Regions from separate parts of the Homo sapiens genome. Here all the other regions are linked to region 3. Evidence: promoter capture Hi-C in 16 types of primary human blood cells and fetal thymus (Javierre and others, 2016). All regions are on one chromosome and are shown on one strand. Each heading gives the region's core, a stretch centred on a gene start or on the middle of the fragment in contact. The rest is flanking DNA. Distances are from core to core; before and after follow the strand shown. Region 1 overlaps G2E3 (G2/M-phase specific E3 ubiquitin protein ligase). Region 2 overlaps G2E3 (G2/M-phase specific E3 ubiquitin protein ligase). Region 3 holds the start of ARHGAP5-AS1 (ARHGAP5 antisense RNA 1 (head to head)).

Region 1 (4,299 bases), core at 849-3,348, 1.5 Mb before region 3:
TTAAAGCATACTAGTCAAAATTGGTGATAATTTCTCATTTTCTTGATATAGATACTTCATAAACCTCAATATAAATACTCTCAAAATGGTTGTATGGATTTTATTTAGGTATGGTAGCATGGTTAATAAAAGTAAAAACTGTTTTACTCACATTTTTTGTAAATTAGGATTACATATAGAATGCCACAATTTCTCTAGGTTTATTCAATTTTCAAATTATTCCTCATTTTATTTTAAAGCATTAAATAGAAAAGCTAATTGGTTAAATTTTGTTATATAAATCAGAGTCATATATTCTGGGATTTGTGTTACTATGCATACTTTTCTAGGATGTCACCAAATTAGTTGTTTAAAATGTTTTTAGATTACTGATTTATATTAAGATGACCCACACTGCAATTAGATTATGCCTAGTGGGAAGTATTATATAAAAAGCAGAATTAAGCTGGGCACATGTGCTTGTAATCTCAGTTATAAGGGAGGCTGAGGTGGGAGAATCGAGATACTCAGCCAGCCTGGCAATGTAGCAAAGACTCCATCTCAAAAAAAAAAACAGAATTGCACAAATTTTCTGGAATCTATGGACATTCCATGAGCTTAAACACTTTTGAGGTGGATAACATTTAGTTGAAAATACCTAAGAAAGTGTGTCTTCTTTAAAGCCTTGGCTTTAATCATGGGAAATTGTTGTTGTTGTTGTTGTTGTTTGTATCCTATGTTTGGTATTCTGTATGTCTGATCCATAATCATTTTAGATATTTGAATGATCTCTGTGGATTGGTAGGTTTGGCCATTTGACCATTATTTATTATCAAGTTGGTTGTATGCTAAGGTAAGTTGACGCCATAGCATTATACAGTTATCTTCATTGCTCTTGAATGATATCTGTTATATAAGCAATGTATAAATAAAGTAAAAAGGATAGAATGAAAAACCCATTCTAATGTCACCACTCAGAGATAAGTACCGTATTTCTGTGTATCCTTCTATAAACTCTTTACTTCTGTTTCCTTTATTTTTTAACTTTAATAATGCTACTAAAAGACAATACCTAAAAGTAACTGTACTAACAAAGTGCTAACAATGTGAAAATATATAGTCCCATAGTCATGTCCCCATATTTATACTCCCACAGAAGAAAAAATTGGAAAACAAAGTCTGATGTCCTTAATCTATTAACATATTTAAATGATATAATGGTTCAGTTTTCCATGAAAGTAAATCATTATGGGAAGTAAAATGTTTTAACCATATTTTTCTTAATACACAAAGCAGGTGTCAGCTGTTGTATTCTCACCCTTCTTAAGAAAAATCATTACATTATTGATATTTTTTAAGTAACAGAATAGATTTGAAAGAGATAATATATCTCTTAATACCAAAGGAAAACTAAAACATAATTCTAGTGTACTTTTCTTTGTTCCCTCATGTCTTTTTCAATCTGTACACTAACATACCTAGCAAATTTGTTTTACTTTAACTTGAAATATTTAAGAACATTAAACAAGACATTTCTTTGGCTTTGGTTGAATTTTTTTGTCTCACCAATAGTAATTGAAAGATCAATTATCAAAGAGTTTGAATAGCTAATATAAACCCCAAAGTCACCATACAGTTTTTATTCCAAATATGTTGATAAAAAGATATTTGTTTCTTTATCCACCTTATTTTTATTACAGCTAAAAACCAATACAAACCAATAAAACCTAGTTAAAGCTATTTTCTGGTTTTTAGTTGCAATTAATTTCCCCTAGGGTAGAAATTAAAGCTGATTAAGTCACACACACATACTTTGTTGGGGTGGGGGTGGCAGGTGGAGAGGCAGTGTACTTGGGTTAGCTACAATTAAAAACAGTATTTCAATTCCTCATTTGACTTATTTTATATATAGACAGGGCCTTAGTGATAAGATGGTGTAAATAATTTAGGATATTCATGTTTTAAAGTGAAGCATAAATATTTATTTTGCAAAATGTTTTCTAGTTTGAAGGATGTTCCATTATTACCATTTTTAGATTAATCTGTATGGTCAAGGAATATCAGAGAAACCTGTAGGTTATTTATTTTCTGCAGTGTCATTTTGTCAAATGGTTGGTATTATAATTGTTCTTTTCTTATTAATTTTATAACCAGTGCATAATTCTTACATTAGATTTTAAAAAAGAATTATGCTATAAATCTTTATAAATGTGTACATATATTTCTTAAATATTGCAATTGCCTAAATGTTGTATATTTTAAGGCTGTTTTCTCTTGCTCTTAATGTTGAGGAAAACTATAAATTGATCTATAATGCATCTACTGTTAATGGTTTTGGTTAGTTTGATATTCATTGTTTTTAAACACTTTCCAATATGGAAACTTTAACACCTTTTATACAATTCTCTACTATTCAAGATATTCTTTAAAATATCTCACCAGAAACTTACAATTTTATACTTTGTAATTTTTAGTTTCTGTAATTTGAGGAAGTGACTTTTTTTGTTTGGGTTAAGTAAAAAGCCTTTGATTGATTACCAGCATGAGAATTCACCTTGGTTTCTATTTTATGCATTTGTAAATTTTTCCCCTAATTATATGGAAGCTATTGGAACTTTTGTATTCAGTGCTAAATACTAAGTCAAGGGGAGTATATTAGGTAAGTTTTTTCAGTGACTGTGCCTTTAGCATTCAGTCATTATAAGAAAATGATCAGAACAAAATCATTACATTATAAACATGTAATTCTTTTATATAGTGATTATCATGTACTGCATTGTTACTTTAAAATAAGCTATTAAACTAGTTTTTATGGTTCAAGTAATGCAATACAAAGTTTCATGCTTCAAGTAATGCAATACAAAACATAACCCATTTAATGATGAATTACTTGAATGTATATTATCTGTGGTTTAGGAAAATTTGGATTGTCTTGAAGAGACTCAGTTTTCAAGTTCTGATTTTGACCATTATCTCTTCTAATTCATAAACATATCCCAGTACCTACACTATGCCAGGTATTATGCTAGGTGATCGTTTATATGTCAGCCTATTTCCCCCCCTTTTAAAGACTGCCAGATTAACCAAAAAGCGTGACATTTATAACAATGTTTTATAAATAAATAAATGTGTTTATGCCACTAAAGGTAAACTGCCTATTTAAACTAAGTAATTTTTTGGGATTTAATAAGATTAAGATTCTGACGAAACTGAAAGATACAAGATTCCTTTACTCTCCACATTTGAGAGATCCTATAAGCAAGCAGTTAGTGTCTGACACCCAGGAACCTATAGAAATGAGGGAATCTGTGTTAAAACTATGTATCCTCTAATGTAAAATAGCTTACCAGAATAAATTATTTAAGCCAAAAATCTGGACTCAGATAAATGGCTATAGTAAATTAGGTTAATGAACAATCTGTAGCCATAGATTATTTTCAGTCTTTCTGATTCTAATAAAACAAATACCTTATTCAGTCTCAGCCTTACAAGGGCTATTTGTCTATGGTTGCTGTTCTTCTGTGAGGTGTATTTTTCTATAAATTTATTGCCCACATTCTGTGCACTTGGTCAGGAGTTTTTATCATTTCATATATATGCAGTGTACATCAATTTTAAAATTGTCTTCGTGGTTTTAACATGACTCATAGTCTTGGGAGAGAATCTGTGATGGAACTGAAGTGGCTCAATGATGGATTTGCATTTGAAAGTGGAAGTACCCAAATGAGCAAAATTGGGCTCTCAGACATTTTATATTTCATAGAGACTGTAGAATGCAGTAGAACTTTCCCATAGGGCAGAAATAATTTGTTTAGTTGGAACACACCTAGATCATTGAAGATTCCTTCAAAATATTAGTAATAGTACTGAAGACACACATGTATTCCAGTTAATTTCTTAATGAATGTGCCAATTAGCTATAAAAATGAGATTACATAATTTTTTTTTCTTTTTTGAGACAGAATCTCACTCAGTCACCCAGGCTGGAGTGCAGTGGCGCGATCTCTGCTCACTGCATCCTCCGCCTCCCAGGTTCAAGCAGTTCTTCCTGCCTCAGCCTCCCCAGTAGCTGGGATTAAAGGCGCCCACCACCACACCCGGCTAATTTTGTATTTTTAGTAGAGACCGGGTTTCACCATGTTGGCCAGGCTGGTCTCGAACTACTGACGTCAGGTGATCTGCCCACCTCTACCTCCCAAAGTGCTGGGATTACAGGCGTGAGCCACCGCACCCGGCAGAGATTATGTAATAAGATAACCTGTTTTAAATGTCACAAAAATAAATTTTTATTAATGAAAAAAGCCAGTGTTTCACACTATA
Region 2 (4,401 bases), core at 234-2,733, 1.5 Mb before region 3:
TTTGGTATCGGGGTATTGGTGGCTTCATAAAATGAGTTAGGAAGTGTCATAATATCTTTTGGAGGGGTTTGAGAAAGATTGGTGCCAATTTTTCTTCAAAGGTTTAATAGGGTTCACCAGTGAACCCATCTGGGCTAGGACTTTATTCGTTGGGAGGTTCTTCATTAGTGATTCAATCTCTTGTTTGTAGATTTGTTGAAATTTTCTATTTCTTCTTGTCACTTTTGTTATTTGTTTAACCTATTGTTTAATTTGTTAACTTTTAACTTCTTAGAGTACAATTGTTCATAATAGTCTCATTTAATTCTTTTTATTTGTATTAGGTCTGTAGCAGTGTCCCACTTTCATTTCTTCTGATTTAGTAATTTGAGTCTTCTCTTTTTTTTCTCTGGGTCATCTAACTAAACGTTTTCAATTTTGTCGATCTTCTCAAGCAATTTTTATTTTATTGATTCTCAATTTAAAAATTTTTTTATTACATTATCTGGACTCTAAATTATTTCCTTCCTTCTGCTAGCTTTGGGTTTAGTTTGGTCTTTTTCTAGTTTCTTTGGGCATATAGTTGGGTCATTGTTTTGGGGGCTTGATTTTATTTGTCTCTAAGTATTTTCTAATTTCCCTTGTGATTTCTTTTTTGACTTTTTGTCTATTTAAAGTTGTTATTTAATCTCCATATGTTTCTCAGTTTTCCAGTTTTCCTTTTATTGATTTCTAGTTTCATTCCATAGTCATTGGAGAGGATATTTTGTGTGATTTCAGTCTTGTAAAATGTATTATTTTGTGGTCTAACATGGTATATCCATGGATATTGTTCCACGTGCATTTGAGAAGAATGTTTCATTCTGTTGTAGGGTGGAGTGTTCTGTATATGTTAAGTCTAAACTATTTCTCCTTTCATTTCTGTCAAATTTTGCCTTGTATATTTTGGGGCTCTTATTAGGTGGGTTTGTGTTTATAATTGTCATGTCTTCTTGATGGATTGAACTTTTTAGTCAGTCTTTAATGTCCTTTGAGTCCTGTAACAATCTTCAACTTAAAGCCTGTTTTGTCTGACATTAGTATAAACACCCAAGCTTACTTTTGATTACTGTTTGTATGAAGTATCTTATTCTGTCATTTTACTTTCCATCTATTTGTGTTTTGATATCTATAGCTTGACCCTAGTAGATAGTGTATGTATGGATTTTAAAAAAATTCATTCTGTCAACCTTTGCCTTTTAATTGGAGCGTGTAATTCATTTACATTTAATTACTGTTAAGGAAGGATTTCTGACATTTTAGTATTTGTTTTCTAAATACTATCTTTCTGTTCCTCATTTCCTTCCTTATTGCCTTTTGTTTAATTGATTTGTATAGTGTACCATTTTGATTCCCTTCTCATTACCTTTTCTGCACATATTTTTTAGTTATATTCTTAGTGGCTATCTTGGGGATTACAATTAATATCTTAAACTTATAACAACCTAGTTTGAATTAATACCCACTCAGCTTTCATAGTATACAAAAATTACACTTCTGTATATCTCATCCTTCTTCCTAAATGTTATTGTGTCAAATTACATTTTATATTTTTTGCTTATTTTACATTTATACATAATGTGCCCAATAACATTGATTTATATTTATTTTACGTGTTTTTCTTTTAAATCATAAAGGAAAAAGAGAATTACCAAAAGTGCAATAATACTACTGGCTTTTATATTTACTTCTGTAATTACCTTTACTGGTGTTTTTATTTCCTCGTATGGCTTTGACTTACTGTCTGGTGTCCCATTAGCATCTCTAGTAGGACAGATCTACTAAAAGTTTCCCTTTCACCCTAGACCCCAGGTCTACCAGACCTTCTGAGAAACAGCCATTCTTGTCTGTCTCCTGGATGATTTTCCAGAGAATATAAGCTTTTAAGAAACTTTTTATTGAGGTATAATATATATGCCAAATATATTTTAAGTACATAATTATGTTCATTGTAAAAAGTCAAACAATGCCAAAATTTATAAGAAATTAAAAGAAAAAGCCCCTACCCCTTCTCTCTCCCCAGGGATAACCACCATTAACAGTTAGGGACCTAAAAACTTTATGGTCTTTCTTGATCTCAGAAACTTCTGATCTTTCTGAATTCCTTTCACCCTTCCTTCTCTCCATCGAATTACTTCTCCTGCTTTGCATATAAGAACCCTAATAGGTAGGTATTATCATCTCCATTGGACACAAGGCAGAGCAAGGAGTTCAAACACAGAAAATGTATAATTCAAGTGTAATGTTCTTTCTGCCATGTTCCTCTGCCTGGGTCCTGCCTGGAATCTTAAAAGTTTAATTGCTCTGTCACATAAGGTAGCAGATACATTGTCCTGTTAAAATATAATTAAGGCCTTATTTTTTAGACAGGAGAAGACCTGGTTCTGTGGGAGTTGTGACAGAATAGCCTTTATTGCCTGAACTGTAGTAAAAAAGATGCCACCTGCTTTAAGAAGGGTACTTTGGATTGGGCTGGTTATTTAGAGCCTGACTTGGTCAGTGGAAGGGGCTAGGACTGGAATAAGACCTGCCCACGAAGTCAGGGTTAGGACCAGCTGGTGAAGGGGGGGGATTATATTACTTACTATCTGATAATCCAATCCAAGGAGATTTATATAATCCAACCAAATGGCAGAATCAGCAAGAGCAACTTCCAGAAGAAATTCCTGACATTCCCCAAACATCCCAGGCTTTCACACACTGTTGTACCTTTGCACACACTCTACTTAGAATGCTTTTTCTGCCTTGTCTGCTCAGAATATTTATTTTTCACAATTACGTTATAATATCACCACCTCTGTAAGGCTACACTGCATGTGTGTGAAATATTTGTTTACTTGCCTGCCTCCCATGTGAGTATGTGTACTCATCTTCACTTTTGAAACATAGTTTTGCTGCAGATAGGATTCTTTGCTTACAGGTTTGGGTTTTTTTCCTGTCTTTCAGCACTTTAAATATGTCATCTCACTGCCTTCTGGAACTCTATGGTTTCAAATGAGAATTTGGCTCTTAATCTTATTGGGGATATTTTGTATGTGTTAATCACTTCTCTCTTGCTGCTTTCAAGATTCTTTGTCTTTGTTTTTGTCAGTTTGACTATACTGTGTCTCAATGTGGATCTCCTAGAATTTGTCCTGATTAAAGATCTTGAGCTTCTTAAAAATGTGTAGATTGAAGTCTTACCTGTATAGATTTCAGTCTTCCATGAAATTTGGGAAGTTTTTGGCTATTATTTCTTCAAACATTCTTTCTGTTCCACTTTCTCCGGTCCCTCTTGGACTCCTATTAAGCATATATTGGTATACTTGATGGTGTCTCATAGTCTCTTGGGCTCTGTTTATTTTTCATTTTTTTTCTTTCTGCTCTTCAGACTGGATAATTTCAACTAACCTGTCTTCAAGTTCGCTGATTCTTTCTCCTGCCTGCTCAAACGTGCTGTTAAACCTCTGTAATGAATTTATTATTTCAGTTATTGTACTTTTCAGCTGCAGAATTTCTATTTCCTTTTTATCATTTCTACTTCTTTATTGATATTCTCTATTTGTTGAGACATTGTTGATTGTGAGTTTTTTGCCAGGTTTTTCTGTGTTTCTAGGGAGGTACAGGCCTGCAGAGCCCCTTGCTCCACCATTTTCGTGGATGTGTTCTGTATTACTAAGTTTGAAGAGTTTTTTCAGAAAATATATTGTGGATCTAACTAAGTCCTTTATCAGATTATGATTTGCAAATACTTTCTCAGTCTGAGGCTTGTCTTATTCTCTTAACAGTGTCTTTTGATGAGCAGAAGATACTAACTTTAAGTACAGTTTATCTTTTTTTGTCTTGTGCTGTCAGTATTGTATCTAAGAAATCTTACGTAACATAAGGTCACAGAAATTTTCTCCTCTGTGTTTTTTCTAGAAATTTTATAGTTTTACATTTTGTATTTAGAGCTGTAATTCATTTTGAGTTCATTTTTTGTGAGACAAGTATTCTTGTGGGTGCTGTAGTGGGTTTGCTTTTTTTTTTTTGCTATTTTAATGTGCATTTCCTTTATGACCAGTGATGTTCATATTTTCTTTTGCTTGTTGGCTATGTTGTGTTTTTTTTAAATGTCTGGTCAAATCTTTTGTCCATTTTGTTCATTTTATTGTGATGTCTATTTGAGTTGTAAGCATTCTTTATGCATTGTGGATATAAATCCTTTGTCAGGTATATGTTTTGCCAGTGTTTATTCCCAATCTGTGTTTTGCCTTTTTCTTTGCTTAACTATGTTTTTTTGATTAGAAAGTTCTTAATTTTGATGTTTAATTCATCAGTGTTTTTTATGATTCAGTTTCCTAAGAAATCTTTGCCAAACCCCAAGATCATGAAGATTCTTCACTATGTTTTCTTCTAGAAGTT
Region 3 (4,343 bases), core at 1,269-3,768:
GCGCATGTGTGTGTGTGTAAATAAGTTACCTATTTTCTTAAAAATTATCCTTTTGAGTAGGGAGGGTGGGTGTTTTAAAGCTTTTTCTCTGAAGTCTTGGCTCCTGATCAATTTTTAAAGATGCCATCTTACATATTTTTCCTCCTGCTCTTTGATGCCTTTTATTTATGGATATATAGGCATTATTAGCCACAGAATTGTGGCCCCCATTTCAGATTTTTATTGATACAGAAAACTCTATTTTTTGAGAAGAGCAAATTACATACAATAACTTATTTGTACTGGTAAACACCTTTAGACTATTAGTATTAATAAGAAACGAAGTCCTAAATTTCCAGGCTCCCTAAATCAAGATAAAGAACTGAAAATAATGTCGACTATGAAAATCATTGTTTGGAAATCGTGATCTTTTTTTTTTTTTTAACGTCTTCTGGTGTCTTCATTATAAGAAAATAAATGAGATTTCAAGTCTTCCCTGCCTCCAGTATCATGTCCTATAACTGAACATTACACCTTTTTAACGTTTTCTTTAGAAGCCCTGATTTATTTGGCTTTGGTTTATGTTGATACATGTCCATGATTATTAAAATTTCTGATTATTTAGGACATAATTTTTAAGGTATCTTTAGGGTGTACACTCTATAGTACTTAACATCTTATTCAGGTTATGACTTTGAACTGCATCATTATAACACTAAAAAGCAACCTTGGCTAACTTCAGTACCTTACGTAACATAAGAAATAAAGAATAACTTGAACTTAAAATACTTTTTATATGTTTACTTCGGGTATTCTTAAGGGCTTTCAGTACAAAGATAAAAACATGCGTTGGAATGCATCAACATTCCAACTTACATAAGTGGTGTAGATACCTATGGCATTAGTACCACATTTTGATGGTTGGACCACCCACCAAATTCCCTTCTCTCCTTTTTTACTTCTTTTTCTTTCTGTTTGCTTTCCTTGCAAGTTTCCTTCCGCATCCTTCTTTCCCACCTACAATTTGTAACTGAAAGAAAGAAGTAGCTACAGACCTTACCTAACCTACTCTTAACCTACTTGGTAGGTAGGGTTCAGATGCAAGGGAGTGGCTCGAATAAAGCATTTTAGTTATGCCTTTTAGAAATTAGGGAGCAAGAGATATATAGAAAAATTAGAAATGTCTCTTCTACCTTTATTAAGTCTACCTTTGAGAAATATGAAGGGCAGGAAGACGGAAAAACGAACAGAACTTCTGCTGGAATATTGTGACAAATTTACTGACAAATATTTTCTAATAGATTTTTACCAACAGGCAGTTTTTGTTTTCTTTACTGACAGACCGTAAATGTACTTCTGGTTGGCAGCAGCTGCATCATTATAACACAAAAGCAACCTTGGCTAACTTCAGTACCTTATGTAACATAAGAAATAAAGAATAACTTGAATTTAAAATACTTTTTATATGTTTACTAACATTAAACTATTTTCAATGCAGGAAATAAATATTTCCCCAAAGAGGAATCCCCCCTCAATTACTTTCTTTCAGACTTAACAAATTGGAGTAGATGTGGTTTTGCTCATTCTTTTATCTGCTGGCAACTATTTTAAGTCTCCTGTGCAAGGCAGATTCCGATGACCTCGGGAAAGTCACAGGACCTCAGTTTCTTCAATGGTAAAAGCAAAGGCAGTGGTTTCTACCGTCCTTTCTCACTGCACCATTCAGCGTCAGTGCCCTCATGAGAAACACACCCAAAGCCCAGTGTGCTCTACCCCAAAACTTGTGAAATTTCTAGAGTCTCAAAAAAGTGAATATGTTTAAGGCAGTATAATAAAAGCCAGGTGGACGACAGTTCCTAAAGTTAGGCTGGTAGTGGCGTGAACAGGGGTCTTTTGGGCCACCCTGAGACCCGCCCCACGGGGCTTCTCGATCCACGTCTTGGCTTCTCGCTCCACTTTCACAGAACGTACTGAATCAGGGGCCTGCATCCCCGTGCCGTGCCGAGCCGACGGAGAAATGGACTCCTCTTCTCGCTCCTGTGGAGTTTCGTCTTCTGGGTGAGTGTGGCACCGGGTCCTGGGCGGGTGATGTCTGTAGTTGGCGAGCGATCCTCAGCCAGAAAACTGGCTGCGCACACAGGCGCAGACACGCGAACATGTTCCTGCGAACGAGCTTGGGCGCATGTTTTCCTCCCTTGCTTTCTTTAATGCTCAGAGACCATAAGGGGATTTATCGAGAAGCATTCGGTGCCCATGCCCGGTTTGGAACCGCGAGCACAATATCTGGTTCCTTTGCAGTACGGTGGTTTGCTCTTGAGTTACGACCAGAAACCGGAACAGAAGGAAAGGGAGAAGCAGGGGAGGTTCGGGGACGACGGCGCTCCGGGCAGTAAGGCAGTAGCTTCCAAAGCGTGGAGGATGGGACTGAGGAGGAGCAGAATACGGAGAAAGAGGGAAGCTGAGGAAAAATACTCACGCCAATGGGTAAAAGGGAAAAGGTGAGAAGGAATGGAGTAGGGGAGGGAACCAATGGTGGGAGAGGCGGAGGAAGAAGGGGGAGGGGTAGAAGCCAATGGGGGAGTGGAGGGGAGGGAGAAGCAGAGGGGAGGAGGGAGCGGGGACGCGAGCGAGGACGCGGCCCCGCGCGCTCGTCCCCCTCCCTCCGACTGGATAGCTCGCGCCTTCCCAGGCTCCCGGGAGACGAGGGCAGGGGCGGGGCCGTGCCGGGTGCGCGGCGCGGGAGGCGTCGCGAGGTGAAGGGGCGGGGACGGGGGATTGTGGGGAGGGCAGCGCGGGTTCGCGCGCGCGCGCGCGTCCCGTCCAGGCTGCGCCGCCGCGCCGCCGCTCCGCCCCCGGTCGGGTGTGTGGCTGCGCGCGCCGGGAGAGATGCTGAGGTAAAGTTCGGGAGAGAGGGAGAGAAATCCGTCAGCGCGAGGGAGCCCGAGTGGCCGCCATTACTGAGCCCGGCGCGGCGGCGGGCGCTGGGGAAGGGGGGAGGGACGGGCCGCCGCTGGTGGCGGGGAGGGAGGGAGGGAGGGTGGGTGAGCTGGCTGCGGGAGCCGTGGGGCTCAGGGTTTCGGGGCGTGTGTGTCGGGGAGGGCGGGGGGAGGTGGCTGAAGGGACGCGCCGCTCGGTGAGCGCGCCGAGGAAGAGAGGCGAGCGGAGAGTGGAGGAGGAGGCGGCGGCGGCGGGAGCGGTCCCCAGGAATGTCGCTGCCGCCGCCACCGCCGGGGCCGCTGCCGTTGAGGAGGAGACGGAGGAGACCGACGTTGTTAGGTAGGACCTTGCGGACCCCGCTCCTCCAAGCCTGCCTGCCCCCTCCCGGACGGGGACCCTCCTGCGGCTAGCTGCCCCGCTCGGTCGCCGCTGCCGGTTGTAACCAGTTGAAGGGGCTGGGGCCCCGCGGCCGCCGAGGGGAGCCTGGCGCTGCGCTCGGTTTTCGCAGGCCGGGCGGGCAGCAGCTGCAGCGTTAGGGATACGTTCGGCGTGAAGGGCAGAGAGGCCGGGGGAGGGGGTGCTTTCTCCACAGGTGACGGGGCCAGGGTCGGCGGAGGCCTGATGCTGGCCGGGGATCGCCGGCCCCGCCAGGCGTCCGCTCTCGCCCGCCGCCTCACTTGCTCGAGTCTCGGGTGGTCCGTCGAGAGGGGAGGTGGCGGTGTCCGTTGGCCGGGTTGCTGCTGTTAACGAGTTCCACCTGGAAAGGGTACACGGGGCGGGTGCAGATTCGCGGAAACACAGTCTCGGTTGCAAACTTAAACGCCTTGTAGGGGGGATCGGCCCTTTCACTTTCCCTCATCTCCTCGACTCCTCCCTGGGTTCTCTTCACCAATTTTCCATCTGCTTTGAAGCTTGGAGTAAGATATGAGAAGTTGCACTGCGCATCCAGAGCCCAGAGTCCTATGGGCTGACTGCGACTGGGTTGAGGCTTTGATACTGAGTTTTCGCTAGAATAACCTCCAGATTCTTCCTCTCTTTCCACTAAAGAAAAGTATCGGGGTGGGGGTGGGGAGCCGCGCGGGAGCGCGCGCGCACTTATCCACACAGAAATACTCCCTCTCACCCTCCCTCTTCAGCGTTATTAGAAATGCAAGAGAGCTGGAGGCTCGGGGTGTAGCTGAGGTTGAAAGGTGCACGGAAGTAAGGGCAAACTGTTATTAGGCCGTTTAGTAAAATCCCGAAAAAGTTGTAGGGGAGACGCTTATACTTCTACCATGTGATAGAAATTCGGATTTGGCCATCGCTTAATAAATGGGAATTCAAATATTTTGAGATAGAGCAAGATAGGCATATAGATGGGTTTGTGCTTACGTTTTAAGTTTAAATTCTTATCGATCATTTATTTTTTCCTTTGTGATAGGCAGGAA

The links. The method cuts DNA at HindIII sites, captures the fragments that hold promoters and counts their contacts. A CHiCAGO score of 5 or more calls a contact.
Region 1: a fragment that was not itself captured here is called in contact with the fragment with the promoter of ARHGAP5-AS1 in region 3 in 2 of 17 cell types (fetal thymus and naive CD8 T cells); the score reaches 11.5 in fetal thymus.
Region 2: a contact is called between a fragment that was not itself captured here and the fragment with the promoter of ARHGAP5-AS1 in region 3, in 2 of 17 cell types (activated CD4 T cells and total B cells). The highest score is 6.0, in activated CD4 T cells.

The regions. Positions count from the first base shown.
Region 1 is chr14:30,616,714-30,621,012 of GRCh38, forward strand. It overlaps G2E3 (G2/M-phase specific E3 ubiquitin protein ligase), which reads left to right. Exons shown (of 15, transcript NM_017769.5): 15 at 1-3,351. Among named protein-coding and RNA genes, the nearest start is that of SCFD1, 3.5 kb to the right of the region's middle. The HindIII fragment of the contact is 4,510 bases long and covers 1-4,299 here.
Region 2 is chr14:30,567,161-30,571,561 of GRCh38, forward strand. All of the region lies in intron 1 of G2E3 (G2/M-phase specific E3 ubiquitin protein ligase), which reads left to right. The region is part of intron 2 of G2E3-AS1 (G2E3 antisense RNA 1); the gene reads right to left. Among named protein-coding and RNA genes, the nearest start is that of G2E3-AS1, 8.0 kb to the right of the region's middle. The HindIII fragment of the contact is 825 bases long and covers 1,072-1,896 here.
Region 3 is chr14:32,074,181-32,078,523 of GRCh38, forward strand. It overlaps ARHGAP5-AS1 (ARHGAP5 antisense RNA 1 (head to head)), which reads right to left and starts at 2,519. Exons shown (of 1, transcript NR_027263.1): 1 at 1,239-2,519. ARHGAP5 (Rho GTPase activating protein 5) reads left to right here and starts at 3,124. Exons shown (of 7, transcript NM_001030055.2): 1 at 3,124-3,255. RefSeq lists silencers at 2,545-2,804, 3,165-3,384, 3,183-3,477. The HindIII fragment of the contact is 3,747 bases long and covers 79-3,825 here.